Linked DNA regions of Homo sapiens: regions 1 and 3 are each linked to region 2. The links are contacts of gene promoters, found by promoter capture Hi-C in blood cells and fetal thymus (Javierre and others, 2016). All regions are on one chromosome and are shown on one strand. The core of a region is centred on a gene start or on the middle of the fragment in contact, and the rest is flanking DNA. Distances in the headings are between cores, read along the strand shown.

The links. Contacts are between HindIII fragments. The CHiCAGO score rates a contact against its expected background, and 5 or more counts as called.
Region 1: a fragment that was not itself captured here is called in contact with the fragment with the promoter of PIGY in region 2 in 2 of 17 cell types (naive B cells and total CD4 T cells); the score reaches 5.8 in naive B cells.
Region 3: a contact is called between a fragment that was not itself captured here and the fragment with the promoter of PIGY in region 2, in 2 of 17 cell types (naive B cells and neutrophils). The highest score is 7.0, in naive B cells.

The regions. Positions count from the first base shown.
Region 1 is chr4:87,998,033-88,002,686 of GRCh38, reverse strand. It overlaps the pseudogene RNU1-36P. Among named protein-coding and RNA genes, the nearest start is that of PKD2, 7.3 kb to the left of the region's middle. The HindIII fragment of the contact is 161 bases long and covers 1,210-1,370 here.
Region 2 is chr4:88,521,989-88,526,580 of GRCh38, reverse strand. It overlaps PIGY (phosphatidylinositol glycan anchor biosynthesis class Y), which reads left to right and starts at 2,805. Exons shown (of 2, transcript NM_001042616.3): 1 at 2,805-3,083; 2 at 4,552-4,592. PYURF (PIGY upstream open reading frame) reads left to right here and starts at 2,805. Exons shown (of 2, transcript NM_032906.5): 1 at 2,805-3,083; 2 at 4,552-4,592. The coding sequence starts at 2,881. It overlaps PIGY-DT (PIGY divergent transcript), which reads right to left and starts at 2,771. Exons shown (of 2, transcript NR_134663.1): 1 at 2,649-2,771; 2 at 1,590-1,816. It also overlaps a transcript of HERC3 not described here. RefSeq lists an enhancer at 3,448-3,507. The HindIII fragment of the contact is 19,176 bases long and covers 1-4,592 here.
Region 3 is chr4:87,680,432-87,685,310 of GRCh38, reverse strand. The region is part of intron 2 of DMP1-AS1 (DMP1 and DSPP antisense RNA 1); the gene reads left to right. Among named protein-coding and RNA genes, the nearest start is that of DMP1, 33 kb to the right of the region's middle. RefSeq lists an enhancer at 3,687-4,630. The HindIII fragment of the contact is 3,957 bases long and covers 1,202-4,879 here.

The DNA.
Region 1 (4,654 bases), core at 41-2,540, 520 kb after region 2:
TAATTGGCTGGCACCGTGATCTTGATGACCTAATCTCTCTATCTCAATTTCCTTCTCTGGATAATGAGGTTAAATACCCATCTTATAAATCCCCCACAGAATTTTTGTTGAGGACTAATGAAGGAATATTAATAAGTTTATAAAACATGTATTGAGTGTCCGCTACATGCCAGTCACTGTGTTGCATTCCAGAGTGACAAAGATAAGACATGATTCCTACCTTCAATGAGATCAAATCTTATAGTTAAACTGCCTGGAAACATCCATAGATCATTCTCAACTTCTCTACCCATAAAAACTTAGGAATTTTTCTAGACTCAGACTTCATCTCTCCCTGGAACCTTCCATAGACACAATCTTGGCCCCCAGCATGAATTGACATGCCTCTCTACCCTGTAAACCTTTATTCCAACATTTGCCACCTTATACTGAAAATATCTGTTCACATAGACGTCTTCGTGAGTGGCACATAAGCTCCTGGAGAGCAGGGACCCTGGCTTATTAGCAGCTCAGCAGCCAGTCTGTTTTCTAGTGCAAGTTTTCTTGGGGACACCCCCACCTACCCACCCCTGCTGCCATTCTTAGCCTATATGTGTCTCAGGTGTGGCAGACACCACTGCTAGCTCCCAAGTGGTGATTGTGGAGCTCAGGCTTGCCCAATCAGCATCACGTCTCCTTGGCCCCTGTGAATGGTATTTCACAAGTATGTTATCCTGTTGTGTTAAAAAAAAAAATTAGGCCAGAAATTTTTTTCCAGTTGTTGGAAAAGAAAAGCTTTTCTTCCCACCAGATTTAGAGTTTTAAAGATGTAAGTCCAGACAAGCTGGCAGCCAAAATGTTGATGCTCAGGGGAAAAATGGCGCCAACAATGGAGATACAAAAAATATTTATAATGTGGATACTGGAAGAATACTAAAATTGAACTAATGTTTGGGTGGCCATGCTATTCAAGAACATTATGAAATACATTTTTATTGTGTGCCATCTCCTGGTTTTGTCAGATGCAGATTATGATATTTATTATCTATATTTTTATCCAAGTTCAAAAGAATTTTGAACAAATTGGGGCCAAGAACAGAGTTCTTTGAAATACTGTGTGCAGCTCTTCTCTTCATCAACTCTAGTTTATTCACTAGTACTGTTTGGGTATAGTTGTATTTTAAAAAAACTTTAAATCCAATTTTCACTAGCCCAGATTTTTCCAAAGCTTATCACAATTTTTTTTCAAATACCTTTTGATGCCAACATGAATGAGGCTTCCAGCATTCCCAGATCTACCAGACTTTGCAGAGTACCTGTTTTATGTCCCCTTCGTACAATCTTAGATATGATTAGGATGCTAAAGAAGTTGTTTATGCCTGCAAGAAGCTTGTAACTAGCTTGCTATACATGGATAAAACATTTAACCAATAAGAGCTTTATGACATTCTTCTGGGAAGTTTTTTTTGTTTTGTTTTATTTTAAATAAAGATTCTGGAGTCTAACTTCTAGGGATTCTGATTCATTATGTCTCAGCTAGGTCCTAGGAATCTGTATTTTAAGAGAGTAGATCAAAGAGACAGAGAAAGACTAGGTTCTCAGGACATCATTTGAACCCCTGAGTTAGAACTAATTGAAGCTAGATCCACCCCTGGACTCCATGAGCCAAAAAATATCCTTTTAAAAAATTAAAAAAATTATTTCAACTTTACCCTTGCCCCTTTCCCTCCCTCCCTCCTCTTGTATTCCCCACTGTCTATTGTTGCCATCTTTATCCATGGGCACCCAAAGGTTAGCTCCCACTTATAAGTGAGAACATGTGGTATTTGGCTTTCAGTTACTATGTTAATTTGTTTAGGTTAATGGCCTCCAGCTGCATCCATGTTGCTGCACAGGACATGATTTTATTCTTTTTCATAGCTTCATAGTATTTCATAGTGTATAGTACCATGTTTTAAAAAATCCAATCCATCATTGATGGGCACCTAGATTGACTCTATGTCTTTGCTATTATGAATAGTGCTGCAATGAATATACAGGTACACATGTCTTTGTAATATTATTTACAGCATTCCCATCAGCAATAAATAAGAGTTCTTTTTCCACATCCTCAACAGCAGTAGCATTATCAGTGTTTTGGATTTTGGCCATTCAAATGGGCGGGCAATTGGATCTCGTTGTTTTAATTTGCAATTCCTTATTGACATATATGTGGAGCATCTTTTCATATGCTCAGTTGCCATCTGTATATCTTCTTTGGTAAGGTGTCTGTTCAGGTTGTTGGCTCATTTTTTCCTTTTATTTACTGGGGAAAAGCATGAATGCAGTATGCTGCTACCACAAATTACGCAGTTGAGTTTCCCACATTTGGAGAAATCACAGGGATCAGCAAGTCTTCAGTGGAATAGAGAAGCCTTGCCCTAGGGAAAACTACCCTTGTGGTCATGGTATCTACCCTGCCTGGTAAGTCTTTTGGGCCTATTTTTCAATCGGGTGGCTTATTTTCTTGTTGAACTTTAAGGGTTCTTTGTATATTTTGAATCACAATCCTTTATCAGATAGGTCTTTTGCAAATATTTTCTTTCAGTCTGTGGCTTATCTTCAATTTTTTTTTTTTTTTTGAAATTTTATATTAAGATAACTTTTTATTCAATAGATCAATAACATTCAGTGTTAATAAATATAGGCAATAGGTATTCTCATCTATGTGCTTTTGGTGAGATTATAATAATGTAGTGAAGGCTTTTCGGAAGATAGTTGGGCAGCATATATTACTATTTAAAAAGTGCATTCCATTTGATCCAACAATTCTAGTTCTTAGTTTCTGTGGTAAGACAACAGTCCTATGTATACAAAGGGTATATGCTGGGGGCACGTTATACATAGGGTAGGACTGGAGGACTAAGGCAAAGAAACATATTCTCTGTTGGCTTCTGTACACTTTATATTACTTAAGTAATTATTTTAAGTGCCCAAGAATTTGAAAGTAAGGTGGGTCTAGAAGTCTGTCATAGGTTTCATCAACAAAATTAAGCCTTGTCTACTTTTTTTTTTATTTTTATTTTTAATTTTTTTTTAATTTATCAACTTTTTTCAGTAGCTGATATAGTTTAGCTCTGTGTCTCCACTCAAATCTTATCTCCAGTTGTAATCCCCACATGTCAAGGGAGGGAGGTGATTGAATTATGAAGGCAGTTTCCCCCATGCTGTTCTCGTGATAGTGAGTGAATTCTCATGAGATCTGATGGTTTTATGAATGGCAGTTTTTCCTGCATCCTCACTTCTCTCTCCTGCCACCAGGTGAAGAAGGTCCTTGCTTCCCCTTCTCCTTCCGCCATGATTGTAAGTTTCCTGAGGCCTCCCCAGCCATGTAGAACTGTGAGTCAATTAAACCTTTTTCCTTTATAAATTACCCAGTCTTGGATAGTAGCTTTATAGCAGTGTGAAAATGGACTAATACAGTAGCCTTTGACCTTTCTTCTTAAAGATAAGGATATTAGCAAATGTAAACTTTTTACCAACAAACACCTTTTAAAATAAATATCTTTTACATTTGCCAAAGTCTATAAACTTTCATTTTGTGGTACAACAGTAAATATAACTTATTTTATATATTTTAATTTTTCATTGTTCACTACCAGTACTTTTTTAAAAGTATATTATCTTTATAGATAGTCATTAACATATTGTTAAATTTATATTTTATAGAAGATAGTTCCTAGTATTGTTTAATTTGTAGAGATAAAAGAGAAAATATGCAGATCCAACTTCTAAGAGCATTCAATATTATACACCAAGCTTATTCCTGAAAACAATGACCCAGAAAACCACATGAAAGAGTTTTATTATGGATATCCTAAAACAAGTAACTATAAGTTTCAGATATATATAGAATATTCCACAGTTCCTATAATAAAAATTCATGAGTTTTCTGATCACCTTCAATGTTTGTACTGAGTTAACACACCGCTGTTACATTAAAGCAAACCATTAAAAATAAAGCTAGTTTTCTCTCTTTTTTTCAACTTTTATTTTAGACTCAGAGGTATATGTGCAGGTTTGTTACCTGGGTATATTGTGTGATGCTGAGATTTGGGGTATGAAAGATCATGTCATCCAGGTACTGAGCATAGTACCCAATAGTTAGTTACTACCAGTACTTTACTAACATGAATTTTTCTTCCTTGAATTTTTTTCTCTTTATTTAAACCTTCTGGAGTAGATTTTTTATTAGGTGTTTTTTTTTTGGTTTGTTTTCAAAGAACAACCCATTAATGCTTCATTATTCCCCAAAACTGTTTAAAATTAAGAAGGCCTTTCTGTTACCATAGACATAAAACGAATGGATTGGGCATTATATTTTTCAGTTTAATCTTTTCTCCTCCTCTTTAGGATTTTCTAAATATTCCTCCACTTTCCTCTGCCATTAAATGTTGTTATGGGAAAAGTAGGAGGTCAGATTAAACCCATTGTTTTTCTCTCAGGCTGAGTAGATGAGTATTTTATTATGATTATTATTTGGCCCAAAAGTTATGTCTGTTTAGTGAAATTATTATTATTACTATTGTTATTGTTATCCTGCTCTCAGATACATCTTTCTGTTGATTATTCAGCATAATTATTTACCTAGGAGATATTGTGCATGTTTAATCAGCAAATTCAAATTTTTACTTAT
Region 2 (4,592 bases), core at 1,556-4,055:
TGGATGACACAGAGAGAATCTGTCTCAAGAAAATAAAATAAAAATAAAAAATAAGTGTTGTCAAACTAAGAAACAATTGGCAAAATGAAAGTAAGTCTTTGTAATCACAGAAAGAAAAGATCAAGCAGAGATAAATGTTAGTTCAAATACTAAATGATGCCATCTAGTGGAAAATTTATTTTGACTCATTTCTTTGGATTGCAGGTTCACAAATTTCAATGCCCCCAAATTTGGAATTGACAGGCTCTGTTAAAATACATAGTCCAGCCCCTCTTCTGCCTAGAGATTTCTAACTTCATGTGTGTGATAATCCAAGAATTGTGTTTCAATAGTATCCATATTGGAAATTAGAAAAATTCCATTTCAGTTAAAAAGAGTGTCCCAGAAGTACCTTGTGCTTTCCCTTTCCATCAGAATGTTTACTAGTTTCACCATAATAAATAATTTTATTGCTAAACATTCTTTAAATGTGTTAGCCCCTGTGCTGTTTTACTTGAATTGTTTTATTTAGTCTGTTCAAACACTGTAAGTTACATACTATTATTATTGTATTTCACAAGTGAGAAGGTTGAGGGTGAGAACTTAAGTAGCTTCTCCAAGATCACACAGCTATATTGTATCTGAGCCCAGAAACCATCAGGTTATTGTGCACAGGCCTATGTGACACGAAAGGTCAGTCATGTGAATAGTGAAAAGGGACTAACTTTTAAAAGACCAGTTCCAGTCCCATGATCCTATCCTATCATCTACATTTAGCTTAGTATACTACAGGCAGAAATGAATTGTATTTCTTCATTACTAAGGGCTATTTAGGGACATATTGCTTTGATATGTTGCAACTTAATACACACATGGTGATAGTCATACATTCATATGTTCCTTAAATATTGGTTGTTGATTTCTGGTGTTATAAATTTGAGGATGTTTTCAATACTTTGCTGTTACTCTCTATTCTTCCCCTAAATAAAGTAAACTGAACTGCCTCAAACCCTCTATGTGGAGGCAAACTGAAACTAATTTATTTATAACTGGTTAGAAAACCCAGTTGATAGAGATCTGTCAGCCAAGCTAGCTGAGGCTTAAGCATGGGTGCCTTCCCCTACCCAACAAGCGCCAAGGGTTGGGCCCACTCAGCGCTTGCAGAAGTCAAGCGCTGTTTCTCCTTAAGCAGAAACTTATCTTTCCTACAGCTCACCCCTTCCCTTGAGCCCAAAGTATCAACTGACTTCAACTGAAAAATTAATTCCTGCTACTGCCCTAGTCGGAAATAGTGTGAAGGTGACATAGGAACTTTACAGTAGTTTCCCTTGAGGGTATGTCCCGATAACTGCCCTATTCTCTAGTCCGTTAGTAACTCTAATAACGGAAAGTTATGACTGTGAAAGATTGCTTTGTGAGGGAAGGAAGGTGAGGCAACCAGAGACTTTCATTATCTCTTAAATATCTATCCAGTAGAAGTGTTTCCTTTTTGGTATCCTATAAACTACATTAACCTTAGAAAATCTTCTGAGCATTAGTGAACAAAGAACATCAAAAAATAAACTGTTTTTTTTAAAAAAAACAGGATGGCCCAAAAAACAAACAAAAAATTAGGATGAACATATAAACATTTGTCAGTTTATTTTTACATTGGAGTGGAAGAGAAATTTGAAAATATAAACATATTTTTGGATTCTGTACTTCCAGCTCCAGGAACTCAAAGTGTGAAATGATAATGCCCAGTGATGCAAAAAAAAAGTTCAGGTTGATATTCAGCAGAACGGAGGGAAAAAATGGATGACTAATGAGAATCTTTGAGTCTTCGGACATGGAAAAACTAGATGAACTAAAAATAAAAATAGACAACATTAATGGAGCATTAATTTGTGCCAGGCACTTTTCTAAATGTTCTTCGAATGCACAATCACATTTATGCCCTACCTACAAGGTAGGTACAATTATTAGTCTTATACAGATAAGGAAAATGAGCAGTTAAGTCATTTGCCAAAGTCATCCAGCTACTAATTGTGGACAGGGAACCAAGCTGTCAGGCCCCAGAGCCCAAGTTCCCATCTACTACACTGTAAGAAAGAGATCTAACATGGTCACTTTCTTGGAGAGTGGGAAGCAAACCTGGGATACAAATTCACTGAATGGATCACCCACTCATTGAATGGATCTTTAACAGGCAGATCACATCTGCCTGTTACACAGCTATTTAGGCCCCTTGCGGCCTCCAAGCTCATTTATAGAAGTAAATTAGCTGTGCTTTATTACGCAAATACTTCACAATGACTGGGTCTCAGGCAGGAAGAATTTATATATTTTGGAGGGTCAGAGGCCTAGGCCCTTCCTTCCAGGTTCTCACTTTTTTTAATGAGAGAGAAAAAAGCCAAACAAGGTTACAGAAACTAATGGTATAGTAAAGATGTACATGAAACAAATGAGCGCTTTCAATACATCCATGACAATACATTCGGTACAATACATAACAGTGTGTTTGAAACTTCACTTGGAGGTAACCACGTAGGTCCAAGCCTAACTCCCTACAACTCTGAGGCCTGGCCACTGGCTTCCTAGCATCCTTGGACAGGCCCCGGTGAAAACCCAGACACCTTGACTTAAACACTGGTTTAGTTTGTAGTCTGGTAAGGCGGCGGGGCACTCACCAGAGGCCTCTGCCCTGGGGCTGTCCTCCGGACTATAGATGACGCCCGTGGGAAAAGCAGTCGGAGCAGAAGCACCCTCGGAACCAAAGCGCCCGCCCCGCCTACTCCTCGGCAGCGTTTCCTGGAGGACCAGGGGGCGGGGCCTGCCCGGCTGGCCTGGACGAACGGGAAGCCGGGAGCTCGGCCACGGGTGGCGAGGCTGCGGTGAGGCCTGGTCTCCGGCTGCCAGACCATGCTGAGTGGAGCACGCTGCAGGCTCGCCTCAGCGCTGCGGGGAACGCGCGCGCCGCCGTCCGCGGTCGCCCGTAGGTGCCTGCACGCGTCGGGGTCGCGGCCTTTGGCCGACCGGGGCAAGAAGACTGAGGAGCCGCCCCGCGACTTCGATCCGGCGCTGCTGGAGTTCCTGGTGTGCCCGCTCTCCAAGAAGCCGCTCAGGTAACTCGCTGGCCTTGGCCCTTCCTTTGCAGCCTCCCGGTGGGCGGAAAGGGAGCGGTGGACCGCGGCCTCTTGCAGCCACTGGGGCCTTGTAGGTCGGTCAGGTACTCTCCGCTGCCACATTCTGGACTCTGTCCTCGCCGGGCGCACAGCGGGCAGGACGGGGGAGACCGGAGGCCAGGGGAGCTGCGTCCCACATCTCCCAGAACGCAACGCCAGCCTGCGGGAATGGCTCGAAGCGTTTTAGGGTTCGCGACCGGCTGCGCATTGCAATCACCCGGGGACCGTTTTAAAAATGCCGATTCCCCGACAGCCCCCAAGACGGGCAGACTTGGAATGCTCGCGGGATGGGACCTGAACATTTGTATTTTCTTTTCCTTTTTTTTTTTCCTTTTAAGAGACAGGGTGCCCCCTACGTTGCCCAGACTGGCCTAGAACTCCCGCCTCAGCCTCCTCAGGAGTCGAGAGACAGGCGCCGCCCCCACGCCCAGCTTATCTGTGTTCTTAAACGGTCCCTAAATGATTTCTAATGTACCACCAGGTTTATGAACCACTGCGATTCAGGACAAGTCCGAAGCCTTCCGGTTTTTAAGCCAAGATAATGAAAAGTATTGTTGTACCCTCCAGATTCTTGTGAAAGTGTCTTGTACAACTGGTGCCTGACAATCTTAAGCAATTCAGCTGTGTTTGCTGCCCAGTGGCTCTTAGTTGTGGCCTAGCAGGTTTCGTAGAAGCCTCTTTAACTAGTTTTTGGGAAGACAGCTCTACAGTTTCCAAGCTACCAAAATTGAATATTGACAACACTAACGCTAGTATTACAAATCGCATAAACACCAAAATGTTATCAGTGGTTATCTTTGAATGGTAGATTGCTAGCAATTTTTCGTATTTCTTTTTCCCGTAATAAACATATTATTCAATTTTCTCGAACCTTGAAATTATCATTTGATTTACGTTTATAACTAGCTCACTGCAGACTTAGTGCTTTCGAAAGTTTCTTCATTTCTGCCCTCTCACCTTTTCCAGTGATTTCCTTCTAATGGATTAGTTAAGTTTCTCTACTTAGCATTTATTCTAAAATGAAGAAGTTGATTTTTCTCTAGTGTTTATTCCAGTAGTAAATTAACAGGGATGGTTTGGGGGTTGACCAAAGTAATGAAGGAATATTTGGATAAGAGAGGGGGATCTTTTCTGACTAGTATGAAAAAAAATTAAGGAATAACTTGTGAATAAGGTGAAAAAGAGAATATGAGAGAAACTACTAAAATGGGAATAATTATAGATTGTAAGAGAATTTTTCTAAGATAAAAGGTTGAATTGGCTATTGTTGCTTTTAGAATTAAAGAAGACTATTCTGGGATTAACTCCGTACCAAAAATTGGATAAATGGTGGTATTTGTTGAAAATCAGGCTCTTCAAGCATTTTATTTTCCCACAACTCATTTTGTTCTTTTTTTTTCCACCTCAGATATGAAGCATCAACAAACGAATTGATTAATGAAGAGTTGG
Region 3 (4,879 bases), core at 1,931-4,430, 840 kb after region 2:
TATTTTCTCAAGATAGTGCCAGCAGAGTTTTCTGATGGAGATGATGTATGAAACCACGCATAAGCAAGTCCATAAAGAACAAGTAGCTCACATCAGAACAGGGTATGAGATGAAGAGAGGAGCCACTATTTTTGGCCTGAGAAACTGGAACAATGCAGATGTTATTGGCTGAGGTGGGGAGATAATGGATAGAACAAGTCTGGATAGGGGAGAAATCAGGAGTTCAGTTTAGGACATAGGAAGATTGACATTCTGTTAAATATCCTGGTGGAATAGGTAGTTGGTACACAAATATAGAGTCTATGCTTGCTTCATGGTATTTAAAGCCATAAGACAGGTTGAGTTCATCAAATGGAAGAGAAGAGGACTAAAGACCGAACCCTGGGGCCCTCCAATATTAAGAGATGGAGAAAACAAGTCACTGAAAGAGTGGCCAATGAGGTAGAGGAAAAATCAAGTGCATGTGTTATCCTCAAAATCAAGTGACGAAAATGCAGCAAGAGGAGGCTACTGATCAACCACACCAAATCCTGCCATTAAGTCAAGTAGGCTGTGGAATGAGAATTGACCATTGAATTTAACAATGTCATTGAGGACTTTGACAACAGCATTTCAGTGAAACAGTAGAGGCAACCCACTGAGAAAGATGAGTTTAAAAGAGACATTTGAAATACTGAGGAGTTTTGTTGCAAAGAGGAGCAAATAAATGAAGATCAGTTGGTGGAGGAGTGGGTGCAGGAGAAGGAGCTGCGTTGTTGTTATTGCTACAGATGAGAGATGGCTACAAACCATATTGCAGTGGGTTGAAGAATGAATGGAAGTTGAAAAAAAAGCCAGGCACAGTGTCTTATGCCTGTCATTCTAGCATTTGAGGAGGCCAAAGTGGGCAGATCACTTGAGCCCAGTAGTTCGAGATCAACCTGGGCCATATAGTGAAACCCCACCCCTACAGAAAAAAAACAAAAAACAAAAACAAAACCCGAAAAATTTAGCCTGGCATGGTGACACATGCCTGTAGTCCCAGCTATTTGGGAAACTGAGGTGGGAGGATCACCTGAGCCCAGGATATCGAGGTTACAGTGAGCTATGTTCACACTACTGCACTTCAGCGTGGGCAACAGAGTGAGACCCTTTCTCAAGAAAAAAAAAAAAGGGAAACGAAAAAAGAAAAAGAAAAAACAAATGATTCCTTCAGAAAGCTTGGTTGTAAAGGGATGGAATGAGAGAAGATACTAACCAAAGGATTATTCAGGGCAGAAGAAATGTTTACTTCCTGTCTTTTTAAAGAAAAATAATGATGAATTGTGGCCCTGAGAAGGTAGAAGAATTTGGGCCCCAGTGCACAGGTAGATGGTGCTGCCTGGACAGAATACAGGCAGTCCTTAAATCAGGACACAGTAAGGATAAAGATGGAGGGAGTTGGAGATGTTTGTAGATGTGAGCATTGAGTGATCAGGGAGATTGTGCTCACTGGTTTCTATTTTCTTTGCAAAATGGAAGAAAAAGTCATTTCCTGAGAGTTGGGAGAAGAGCAGAGATGTAAGAAGAAGAGCGGAGATCCTGGGCTCAGGTGATAAGGGAAACTCATGAGAGGGCATATGATTTGGAATGGTTGTTATTTGCTCTCTCCTGCTGGCTGAACACAAACTACTCTTCTCTAAGCACCCAAACATAGACACATAGCCACACACAAACGTAGGTATGCAAATAGGAAAAAATGCAGCTGAACATAATCTCTCAAATACCCCACTAGGATTGTAACATTCTTTCTTTTATTTACTATATAGCATGTGCTAGGTGTGGGGCAAAATTCAAAGATAGCCTCCCGTGATCCTCACTTCCTGATAGTCATGGCTTTGTGTAATCCCCTCCTCTTAAGTGTAAGCTGGATCTAAAAACTTGCTATCAACGAACAGAATACAGCAAAAAGATGAGATGTCACTTCTGAGATTAGATTATGGAAGACTATGACTTGTCTTGCTCACTCTCTTGCTTTCTCCCTCCAGTGGAAATTGACTTCCTTGTTCTGAGCTGCCCCATGGAGAGGCCATGTGGCAAAGAATTGAGGGTGGCCTCCAGCCAACAGCCAGCAAGGAACTGTGGCCTTCGGTGGGAGGAACAGAATCCAACTAACAACCATATGAGTGAGCTTGGAAGCAGATGCTTCCCCGGTTGAGACCTGAGATGACTGTAGACCCAGTTGACACCTTGATTGCAGCCTATGAAAGGCCCTAAAGCAGGGGACCCAGCTAAGCCAAGGCCAGGTTCCTGACCCATAGGAACTGTGAGATAATAAAATTTTTTTTTTGTAAACCACTAAGTTTTGGGATAATTTGTTACACAGCAACAGATGACTAATACACTCACAGATTTTACACTTCTGTTTCTCAAGTACACAGTCCCCTTCAAATAACTAAAACTTTCCCTGTCCCTGAGTATTTACCATGACAATAACAAAATAAATACATTGTATAGAATGGGCAAGAATTGAGTAGGAGGTGGAAGAGAAGTTTAAAGGAAAAGTGGGGAAATTGATCAGGATATAAGTCAGTAATTTCACCTGTATGGGAGCAGACTAGGATACAAGACAACCCAGAGGAATGAAAAAGTGAAGGAGAAAAAGAAAAGGATTTTGAACAAAAGGAGTGGAGGCATGAAGGAGACAAGCCCTCCCCAAACTTGCTTTAAATGAGCACTAAATAAACTCAGTGTTTAAGGAATAGGTAAATGAGTAGCCTTTGCCACAGATCAGCCAAGATTCCTCAGTGTAGATACTGATTTTAGACTGTGAAATAGCAAATTGTGATATAGAAGCAAGTCAGCTGCCCAAGATAGCTCAGTGCCTATCTAGTGGGATAGGGCATTGGATTAAGTTCTTTAGGTTCCATGGCACAGGACAGCATTACCTCATGTCTAGGCCTCAATAATTACCAGGCACAATATCAGGTCTGTGCAGCCCCAGCTTTATCTCCCAGAAACCAACCTGCTTCTCCCATCTGCATGGTTAGGACACATCCATTTTGAACAACTTGATCACATTCCACTGGTCGCAGATGATCCACCCAAATTAGGCTAGTCAAAATTTGCCTTTGTTCTCCCAAATCACAGATGTTTTAATGCAACAGTGACAATATCATCAATCCTCTGGATTTTAGAAGAGTAAAAAGAGCATGTAGTGTACCTATACATTCCGTCTAGTTATAATCCTTTTCTATTTCTTATTGGTTGTCTAGTCTGAGTAATATGGATAACATTTCTTTAATCAAATAAAAATAATACAGAGGTCCTAGTTAAATGGAGCCCAAATTAGACTTGAATCAAGAACTCCTGGATTTAGTCTCCCACACTGTTTTTGCCTTTTAAGAAAAGGCACATTATTTGGACTGGGATCCTGATTTCATTATGTTTTCAATATTTAAAAGGATCCTACTAATGTCTCCTCTGAGTGTTAAATATGTTTATGATTCAAGTCCCCATTTTTGGTGTTGGGTATAAGGAAAATTACATGTCAGAAATAGAATCCGTACTCTCAGAAAGAAAATTGCTACTCTTGGGTGTCTTTTTAAAGGTTCTGAGATTCATGATGGTGCTTCTGCCGAAATAGAGAAGCCAGTTCAGATCTGACTCTTATGAAAGTAAATTTTCAAAACTTAAAGCAATTCATTGAGTTATTAATTTGAGAATATAAGAACTAAATTTAAATCCTTCTTGACCTATATTACGATCTGCCACAAAAATCCTGGTGGACGTTCTAAGCCAGTTCAAAACCATCTGCATCTTCAAATCACTCGATTGCATTCATGTCATCCCCTCATGGTTCCACCTTTTCCCTTTTCTTGTTTTGATTTATAGTATTTGGAGTTCTTTGATGCTTTCTTTCACCTTTTATCTAATCATTCTCCATGTTGTACAAATTCTTTCCCCCAAATGTCTCCTATGTATGTCCTCTTTTTATTGTTCCTTCAACATCACCGTGGCACAGTACAGCATTACTTCACATCTAGGCCTCAATATGTACGGGGCACATTGTCAAGTCTTTGCAATCCCAGCCTCATCTTCCAGGAACTGACCTGCTTCTCCCATCTGCATGGTTAGGACACAACCATTTTGAACAACTTGATCGTATTCCACTGGTCACAAATGATCAGTCCGAATTAGGCTAATCAAAATCCTTCCCTAAGACTAACAAAATAATCCGTTTCTGTGATGATGGAAAATGTAGAATCTGGGTTGATGGTCATATTCTCCCCGTGTGTACCAAAAAAAGAGGCCGAGTGCAGTGGCTCATGCCTGTAATCCCAGCACTTTGGGAGGCCGAGGCAGGCAGATCACTTGAGGTTGGGAGTTCGAGACCAGCCTGATCAACATGGAGAAACCCCGTCTCTACTAAAAATTCAGAAAAATTAGCCAGATGTGGTGGCACATGCCTGTAATTCCAGCTACTCAAGAGGCTGAGGCAGGAGAATCGTTTGAACCCGGGAGGTGGGGTGGGAGTGAGCCGAGATTGTGCCACTGCACTCCAGCCTGGGCAACAAGAGCGAAACTCCGTCTAAAAAAATAGAAAGAGAGAGAGAAAGTGCCTGTCTTCAAGAGAGAGAAGGAAACAAATACATAGATAAGAGCAAAGACAGAAATTAGAGGCAGAGGTCTGATAGTGGTCACCTTTCCTGTTGATATTATTCCTCGGGCCTGCTGCATTCCAATTCTTTATAATGAACTCCTTTTTAAATTTCAGTAATTTAAATAGCTCTAACTAAAACACTGCGGGAATCTCCTAATTGTTCTCCCTGCTTCCTGTCGTTCCCTATTTGTATCCATCCTCTATGCCACTGCAGGAGAGGCCAAATTTACCCCTACTCACTTAGAGATTTTTGGCTGC